2 separate regions of the Homo sapiens genome follow, and region 2 is linked to region 1. The links are contacts of gene promoters, found by promoter capture Hi-C in blood cells and fetal thymus (Javierre and others, 2016). All regions are on one chromosome and are shown on one strand. Each heading gives the region's core, a stretch centred on a gene start or on the middle of the fragment in contact. The rest is flanking DNA. Distances are from core to core; before and after follow the strand shown. Region 1 holds the start of PDAP1 (PDGFA associated protein 1). Region 2 holds the start of ZCWPW1 (zinc finger CW-type and PWWP domain containing 1).

Region 1 (4,421 bases), core at 268-2,767:
TGCAGGCTTGGATTCTTGTTCAGCTCTAAAAAATTATTCTGTGACTTTCAGGTCACCTTCCCTCTCTGGTCCTGTTTCTTCTGTAAAATGAGGGCAGTGGATTGGCTGATTGCCAAGGTCTCTTTCACACCAAACAACATATTACATAAAGTCAGGTAGTTCCCATACAAGAGGCCGATCCCAATCTAAATAGCAAAGCGTTTTTCAAACCACACAGCATTTCCTTGCTGCCAGAGAGAACCCAGGTTAAGTATTTACCTTTCAGCATAACAGATTCATCTCTCTCAAATTCATTCAGTCACTCCCTTCTGTACTGACACTTTACAAAGACCCACCCCCCCCCCGCCCACAGAGCCTCCTCTCATGAACTCTCTAAAACAACCATATAGAGGAGGAATCAAACTCTATAAGGTAGAATCAGGGTCACACAGCTGAGAATTTGCAAAACCTGACTCTGGAGGGCTCCTGACTCCCAAATCAGTGGTCTTCGCACTAGTCTCCCCTACGCTGAAGCTAAAAATAGGTGAATTCTGGTCTCGGCCCCAAGGCGCATAGTCTGTGACAAGAGAATGATCGCTTTTCTACGACCCAGGGAAATTCGAGGGCCCTGATCCAGCCTGGAAGTCAGAAGAGGCCTCTCGGAGGTGAAAATGGTAGGCGGTAACCAGATCGAGGAGAAAGAGGACGTAGGAGGTAATCAGATCGAGAAGAAAGATGTGCCGGGAGGTGTAAGAGAGATTGGGGCGCTAGGGGAAGGAGGCGAGGAGGAGCGAAGGAAGATAGTGCAGGATTGTAGGGAAAACTCATAAAAAGGACAGCATCTGAACCCAGCTTAGAAAAACAATCAGAACACAGAAGACGTTCCTACCAGAGGAAACGGCGCGAGAATCCTAGAGGAAAACCCCCAAATCTACCGTCCCCTCAGAAGAACGAACGTGGCGCCGCCTCCTCTCGGGAGCTCTCTCCGGCCTCAAGGTCCAAAGCCCGAACACATCCCAGTGGCTGGCTGAGAGTCCAGCCACTCATATCTCCCTCCAGGACGGTGCAGACCACCGGTCTCCCGCCTCAGCCGTTGCCAAGGTAATCGAGAACAGAGGGAAAACACATACCGGAAGCTCCTGGAGCTTGGGTAGCTGCTTCTCGACAGAAGGCTTCCGCTCTTCAGGCGATCTCTAAGGCATGAGGTCCTTGCGGAGCCCCGCCCTACCCGCGCGGAGATTGCGTCATCTTAGGTGTCCTCAGCAATGCCTGTATAGAATTCCAGAGCCGCTGTTGCCATTTGCCCTCACTTCCGGTGGGTGGCAGGCAGGGCCACGCGTCTTCCCGAACGGAGAGACTAGGGGCGTTGTTGCCTGGCAGCAGACGGGCAAGCCTGGACTTAGGCGGCGCGCAGGACGGTCCGACTTCGTGCGGAGGCCTCCCTGAGGTCCGGGTCCTTGCGGCCACTGCGGCCACTGAAGCGGCGGCGGCGGCTGGCCCAGGAGGAAGAAGTCGAGCCCAAGCTATTTCCGGTTCCGGTGTCAGTTCGAGGCGCCGCCGCCGCCGCCGCAGCCGCCGGAGCCGCAATGCCTAAAGGAGGTGAGGGGCGGGCGCCGGTGGCCCGCAGGCCTGGAGGGGCGGCCCAGGTCCGGCTTCCGCTGTCCCCTCAGCCCGTGCGCGTCTCTGAGAGCAGCGCAGAGGGAGGCTGTCCGCACCGGCTGAGAGCCAGGCCTGGGCCTCGACGCCCAATTGTCCCGATGGGGAAACTGAGGACTGTGGTGTCCCAGAGTCACTCCGTCAGTGGTCTGAGGAGTTTCGGAAGCTCTGGGTCCTCGCCGGCCTAGAAAGCCGGATCTAGGATGCGCTTCTCCGGGTCTAGGGGTTCTGGAATTTATCCCACTCTTTGGCTGGCTAGGAACTGAGTCACCGCGTCCCGCGCTTGTGCCGGGCCCGCCTGCCTCTCGCGTAAAACGTGGGCTTTTTCTGGCTTCGGTTCAGCCAGGCCTGCCTAGGAGGACTTAAGGAGATGCCCATGAGCCTTCCAGACCTGGTTTCGACTCCCCCGTTCGGTAGCGGCTCGGTGTGTTCCTTTGAGCCAGTCGCTCCACCTCCTGTGTCTCCGTTTTCTCATTTGCCAATGGGAATAACGATTGTACCTACCTCTTAGTACTGTTGGGAGGCTTCAACTAGGTAATCCACGTGGAGTGCGCAGTACAGTGCCAGGCAGTCGTTAAAAGTGCCCAGTGAAGCAGTAACTATTCTTATTTTTAAGGCTTTGCCAGCTCTTGATCTTGTAAGTAGGTTCATGACTGCCCAGTCCATTGTAGCCCGTCCTCTATCTTCTAGCCCGTTCTCTATCCTGTTTCCCCCTTTAGAATCGATAGTCCCCAGTTTGAATCCCAGCTATGTCACGTCTAATTCTGTGGCCCTGAACAAGTTAACCTCTTCCTCATCTGAAACACTGGGCTAATCCTTAGCTTGTTGAATTGGGGCCGGGGTGGTAAAATTATAGCGCTCATAAAGTGCCTGGCCACCTCCTGGCACAGAACAAATATATTTGTGTTGGTAGCTCATGTGTTATATTGGTTAATGCACTCAACCCACAGAAACATCTGCCTGTAGCGTTTTCAAACCTAAATCGCTTCCTGACTCCAGAGATAATTGGGCATTACAGAGCTAAATGTGTTTAAACCTAGCTCTCTACTGATTTATTCTGTGGCTGGAAAAGTCTCTCTGCTATTGTTCCCCAGTCCCTTCATCTGTAAAAGGAGGTTGCTGAATGAGCCATCCTCCCTCCGAAGTTTTACTTAATGGATACTTTGGGTAAAGGTTGGAGGTTACAACGATAAAACCTTAAATATGAATTCATAGCTAAATGGTCTTTGGGCTTGTGAAAAGCTTTTTGGGGTAGACAAGGTTTACATTTTCTTGGGTTAATCTGAAAACCACAAAAAACCGTGAAGGTGTTAAAAGTATCAAACTCCCTAAGAGCAAAGGACCAACGCTTGTTTCCATTATGTTAAGTGCAAATCGTTTTTTAAAGTCTTGAAGAGTCTACTATAAAATTACTGTGGACCAAGCTAAGGTCAGGGTCCCATAGCCAAGTGCATGAGAGGAGAGCCTATAGTAATCAATTTTGAGTTGTTACTGTTGCCTGGTGTATTAAGAGAGCAAGAAAGGGTGTTGGTTTTTTTCTTGGCACACTTGCTCTCTCACAATAGGACTTTAATAAGCATAGACTTAGACACCCCTGGGAACCTAGGTAGTCATTAAAAATGGGTGGTGTGATCTTTAGCAGCCCAATTATGGCTTTGCAGCTGCTGTAAGGAATCAGAGGAGGCCAGTATCTCTGCTACCGCCTCTGGAGTGCAGAGCAACTCTGGCTGATTACAGAGTCTCTGCTCACAGAGACAGACTATGGAAATCAGGTGGGCCTCAGCTTCCTGTGTGGAAGTTGAGGCCACAGCCACCCTTGCATACTTGGGGACCAGCAGAGGGGGATGCCACCTTGCTTTAAAACTGGCTGATGGCTTAAGCAAGGGTCAGCCTGGTGTTCTGGCTGAAGAGGGTCAGACTATAAAACTGACACTTTAACTGCTAGTCACATTTTTAACTTTTAGACTGTGTAGTCAGGTTTGTTTTCATCTGTACTTTGCCAGTCATTTCTTAGTCTAAGCACAAAGTTTTTGCCTGTAGGTTTGGGTTTCTTTTTTTTCCCTTAAGTATTCTCTTTTTGCCATACTACTAAGGTGAACACAAGGTATTTTATTGTGTTTCCAACATCTGCAGTAAATTGCTTATGTGCTCAGTGGTGCTTTTGTTGTTGTTTTTCCACCAAATACTAGATTAGAGGGAAAAGTAACGAACAGCGATTTTTTTATTTTTTTGAGACGGAGTCTCGCTCTGTGGCCCAGGCTGGAGTGCAGTGGCTCAATCTCGGCTACTGCAACCTCTGCCTCCTGGGTTCAAGCGATTCTCCTTTCTCAGCCTCCCAAGTAGCTGGGATTACAAACATGTGACACCATGCCCAGCTAATTTTTGTATTTTTAGTAGTGAGGGGGTTTCACCATGTTGACCAGGCTGGTCTTGAACTGGCCTCAAGTGATCTGCCCGCCTTGGCCTCCCAAAGTGCTGGGATTACAGGCATCAGCCACTGTGCCTGGATATTAGCGAACATTTTTGTAGTGCTTATTCAGTAGCAGGCACTGTTCCAGCAGCTTTCTGTATATTGATTAATTCATCTATCTTTGTGACAACCCTGTAAGGTAGGGACACAGATGAGGAAACTGAGACTGAGAGGTTAAATACCTGCCCAAAGTCATCAAGCCAGTAAGCGTAGAACCTGGGAGTTGGACTCTAAACTTCGTGGTGTTTCGCAGTCTGCTTTGGTCTAAGTCTCCTGGTCTATGAAATGGGACCAGCTATCACCCCTGTACCATAGG
Region 2 (4,583 bases), core at 937-3,436, 1.0 Mb before region 1:
GAGAGGGGCTGTGGGCGGCACGGGGTGACTCTCACTCCCTCCGGCTGCCTGCTGCTGCTGGTGGTGCTGTCCCCGGTGTCTATGCCGCTTCCGACCAGTCTTGAGTGGCGAAGCAAGAACTACATGGCCCTCATCAGTGCAAGTATTGAGACTGAGCGGGTCAGTAATATCTTTGGGGATGAGGATCTCCACCGGATCTCGCCCTTTGGCCGGAAGGGGGGATGACTTAGGGGTCTCCGCGTTGAGAGTGCGGCTCACTTCCTCATCCAGGAGGCTATTCAGGTTCAGGGGATCAAAGATATTGCCCCCCAGGAGGAAGTTGGAGGGTAACACAGAGTCACAGTCCGAATTCACCCGCCTGCGCCTCTTGAAGGCCGGATGTTTGAAGCCTCCCCCGCCTCCCCCTACATTACAGCTATTTCTCCTCTTGCCCCCGCCCCCCCCAGGTGGCCGGTGGGGCTGATAGCCATTGCGGGGTCGAGGAGGAGCAGGGGGACCCAGCTCTGTCCCGCCCCCTCCCCGGCGCTCCTCCCCCACGTCCGGGGGAGCGGCTCGCCCCGGGGGATCCGACAGGCGGGCCTCCCCATGCGACTGCGCCTGGGGGCCGCCCCCTCGGTGCTGCTGCGCCTGGGGACCACTGGAGGAGGTGGCCGCGGCCCCGGGGCTTTCCCGACCGACCGCAGCGGCTGGGGACCCCGCAGATGGCGCGCAACGACCCGGACCACGCTCCGTCCCGCCGCGGAGCTCCCCAGAGGCGGCCTCTTGGTGCGGTGGCACCGTGGGGCCGCCCCCTCCGCCCGACTCATCTTTGAGCGGCGGCGGCGGGGCCGGCACCAGAAACGGCTCCTTCTCCGCCGCCATCTCGATCATTTCCTCCCCTTATTCCGTGCCAGTCGGGGTAACGAGGGGGATCAGGGGGCCTAACCCCCCCTGCCTGGACCCTGCTCCCTTCCCCCCTTTCCCGAGTGCGCGCGCAGCTCTGCTCTTCACGCCTAGTCTCGCGCCCAAGCGCCTCCCCGCCAAGTGCGCCCTACTAGCCCGCGAGACCAAAACAAGAGGCCCGCGAGACCCGAACTACTCGAGGACTCAACCGCGCGTGCGCCGACCCCTTTCTCCTCCGCCACTACCACCCGGCCGCGAGCGCGCACGGTGAGCGCGCGTTCCCTTCGCCCGGGAACCACGCATGCGCACTCCGCCACCACCCTGGTTGCGCGCGCATCAGACTACGAACCAACTTAACGGCTCTGGGAGTTTAAATATAACCCCCCCACAGCCCCCGCAAAAGCCCACCACCCCAAACTGACACCCTACTTCCCTGCGCAGCTATGTCCGGCCCTACTGATCTCCTTTGTCTCTGCCGCGCGATCCCACCCACCGTAGGCGGGGGACGGGAGCTGGTGTGAAAAGGTCTCCTTGACACCCGACCCTTGTTCCTGAGGAATGAGTCTCAGCGGTCTCCGCCCGGCTCTAAATCCAACAACCTCCCCACCCCGCCTCCTTCCTCCCCCCTAGTGGGCAGCGCCTGCGCACACCCTTTTGGGCTTGCGCGGGTAGAGGCAGCACGTGCTGAAACTGGCGCCCCGCCCCCCGTCTTAGGGGTTGGGCCTGTGACGTCGCTTCCTTAAGTTTGGTAAACGCAGCGTGCGTCAGCGCGATCCGGAGGGGCGGGGCTTCCTGACGAAGGGCGGGGCTCATGAATTATTCATGAGCTGTTGGTAGCAAACCTCCCCCCCTCTGCCCACCTTCTTAGAAGCGCTTCCGAGGGAGCGGAGGGGAGACCCTACAAAGCCAAGGAAGGGCGGGAGTGGAACTGGGCTCAGTAAAACGCGATAGGTCATTATAACTCACCCCCCTTGAAAATATTCTCTGCTGAATTGGGGAAAAATAAAAAGCACTAAAACAGCCGATGTTGTCCAACTTCCTCTTCCCCCGAAACGGCTGAGTCGTTCTCTGGCTCCTCTACCTTCCCCCAATCGCAATCACCTGGAGACGCCACACCACGCCTTCCTCTCCGCCTCAACACCCACGACCCGAACCCCAACGCATCCGCCCACTCCCGACGCCCGCTCACTGGCCCGTCAGTTCGCGGGCCTCTCAACACCCACCGCGGCGCCACGCCGACTTATATACCAGCGAGTGTGGGCGGGGACGGGGGTTCGGTCCGCGCTGGGCCCCCCCAGCTTCTGCCAATGAGGAAGAAGCGAGTCTACGCCGTTTTCCCGGGGAGATGCGCCGCCCGGTCTCCCTGCCAGCGGAGTGCTGGGCCGAGGACAGGGCGGCAGGGGTGACAGTGGGGTCCAGGAGAGTCTCAAAATCCTAAGGTGAGGGCGTGAAGGAGACCAGCAGGAAGAGGAGGAATTAGAGAACGGAAAGAGGGAGGAAAAGGCAGTCTGAAACAGAAAAGTTAGTAGATGTGCTTCAGGAACAATCAGGCGCCGCGGCCGCCGCCTAAAAATATGTGACACCAAAGAGGATTCTGGGATTTGTAGTTTTCCCGGGACGTTCGGGTGGAAGATGGCGGATTTACCTCAGCTGCGGAAACGCAGACGCTGTTTCCAGTTGCGCATGCGCCTCGGCCCCGCGAGCGCACCGCCCTCGGGTGGAGCTAGTGCTCAGGGCGTCCTCGTGCCTTTTCTTGGTGGCGGGAAACCTGGGTTGAGGTGTGAGGGGCTTGCGGAGTCGCTGCGGCAGCTGGTTCCGCCCATCGCCTTTAGGTCCTCCTTGCTCCTGAAGGTAGCCAGCTAGTTTCTGGTTGTAGGTGAAGGTGCTAGGCGCTGCCAGTCCTGGCACCCGTTGCCTGAGGAGAAACTTTCTCAGGGCGACAACCAGCCCTTCGCCCTTTTTCCTCAGAATCTGTCGCCCCCAAGAAACAGACAAAAAAAAAATAGCCCAGTCTCCTGGCGGGCACCAACGATATGAGTGAGAATAAGGATCACGGGGCCTCGGCAGGAGTGGGGGTGGAGGGGAGATTCCCTCATGGTGGGAGGAAGGAAGGGAGGGGACGGGGAAGAGAGAGGGGGACGTGTGGCTCAGGGACACCGACTTGAACCGCTATCCCTGAGAGAGAATAAGGGGTGAGGGAAGAGAGGAAAAATGGGAGCGCCCCACAAATGGGAAGAACTTCTCTGCAAAACTTCTTCCCTTTGGATTGCAGGTGGATTTGGAATTGGGGCTTTTTTTTTTTTTTTTTTAAAGACTGTCTCGCTCTGTCGCCCAGGCTGGAGTGCAGTGGCGCAGTCTCGGCTCACTGCAACCCCCACCTCCTGGGTTCAAGCGATTCCCCTGCCTCAGCCTCCCGAGGAGCTGGGACTACAGGCGCCCGCCACTGTGCCCGGCTAATTTTGTATTTTTAGTAGAGACGGGGTTTCTCCATGTTGGCCAGGCTGGTCTCGAACTCCTGACCTTAGGTGATCCGCCCACCTTGGCCTCCCAAAATGCTGGGATTACAGGCACGCGCCACCGTGCTCGGCTGATTTTTTTGTATTTTTAGTAGAGACGGGGTTTCACCGTATTGGCCAGGCTGGTCCCGAACTCCTGACTTAAGGTGATCCACCCGCCTCTTCTTTCTTGTTAAAAGTTTTAAATCGGGCTTGCTGAGCTTGTGCACAAACACGAAGGAAGAAAGCAAGGGAGGGAAGGGGGAGGAAGGAAGGAGGGAGGGAAGGGGGAGGAAGGAAGGAGGGAGGGAAGGGGGAGGAAGGAAGGAGGGAGGGAAGGAGAAGAGAGAGAGGGAGGGAGGAAAGGGAGGAGGGAGGGAGGAGGGGGAGGAAAGGGGAGGGAGGGAAGGAGAAGAGAGAGAGGGAGGGAAGGAGAAGAGAGAGGGAGGGAAGGATAAGAGAGGGAGGGAGGAAAGGGGAGGGAGGGAGGAGGGGGAGGAAACGGGAGGGAGGGAAGGAGAAGAGAGGGAGGGAGGAAAGGGGGAAGGGAGGAGGGGGAGGAAAGGGGAGGGAGGAGGGGGAGGGAGAAGGGAGGGAGGGAGAGGAAGGAAGAAGGAGGGGAAGCAGGGAAGGGAGGAGGGGGAGGGGGGTAGGAAGGAGAGGGGGAGGAAAGGGAAGGAGGAGGGGGAGAAAGGAGAGGGGGAGGAGGGAGGGAAGAGGGAGAGAGAAAGGGAGGAGGGCAAGGAAGGAGGGGGAGGGAGAGAAGGAGGGGGAGGAAGGGATGGAGGGACAAAGGGAGACAGAAGGAGGGAAGAAGGAAGAGAGGGAGGGAAGAGGGAGGAAGGAGTAAAGGAGGGAGAGAGGGAGGGAGAAAAAGTGAGAGGGAGGGAGGAAACTGCTATTAGTTAATTGAGGCATGAAAATAAGCAGGAGTCCACATACTGTTATTAATGCAAAAAGGAAGATCAGACTCTGGCTTAAAAAAGATTTGAAATATACTTTTTTTTTTTTTTTTTTTTGAGACAGAGTCTCACTCATTTTGCCCAGGCTGGAGTGCAGTAGCACGGTCTTGGCTCACTGCAACCTCCACCTCCTGGGTTCAAGTGATTCTCCTGCTTCAGCCTCCCAAGTAGCTGAGATTACAGGCGCCTGCCACCACGCTGGCTAATTTTTGTATTTTAGTAGAGATGGGGCTTCACCATGTTG

Evidence for each region. The method cuts DNA at HindIII sites, captures the fragments that hold promoters and counts their contacts. A CHiCAGO score of 5 or more calls a contact.
Region 2: a contact is called between the fragment with the promoter of ZCWPW1 here and the fragment with the promoter of PDAP1 in region 1, in 1 of 17 cell types (neutrophils). The highest score is 7.6, in neutrophils.

Annotation. Positions count from the first base shown.
Region 1 is chr7:99,405,693-99,410,113 of GRCh38, reverse strand. It overlaps PDAP1 (PDGFA associated protein 1), which reads left to right and starts at 1,517. Exons shown (of 6, transcript NM_014891.7): 1 at 1,517-1,578. The coding sequence starts at 1,566. BUD31 (BUD31 spliceosome associated protein) reads right to left here and starts at 1,145. Exons shown (of 6, transcript NM_003910.4): 1 at 869-1,145; 2 at 1-80. MIR12119 (microRNA 12119) reads right to left here and starts at 942; the gene lies at 850-942. RefSeq lists an enhancer at 1,089-1,478 and a silencer at 1,689-1,748. The HindIII fragment of the contact is 3,476 bases long and covers 1-2,879 here.
Region 2 is chr7:100,426,306-100,430,888 of GRCh38, reverse strand. It overlaps ZCWPW1 (zinc finger CW-type and PWWP domain containing 1), which reads left to right and starts at 2,186. Exons shown (of 18, transcript NM_001386010.1): 1 at 2,186-2,321. MEPCE (methylphosphate capping enzyme) reads right to left here and starts at 1,058. Exons shown (of 4, transcript NM_019606.6): 1 at 1-1,058. The coding sequence starts at 870. RefSeq lists enhancers at 159-238, 1,109-1,248, 2,269-2,498 and silencers at 369-838, 2,659-2,708. The HindIII fragment of the contact is 9,299 bases long and covers 1-4,583 here.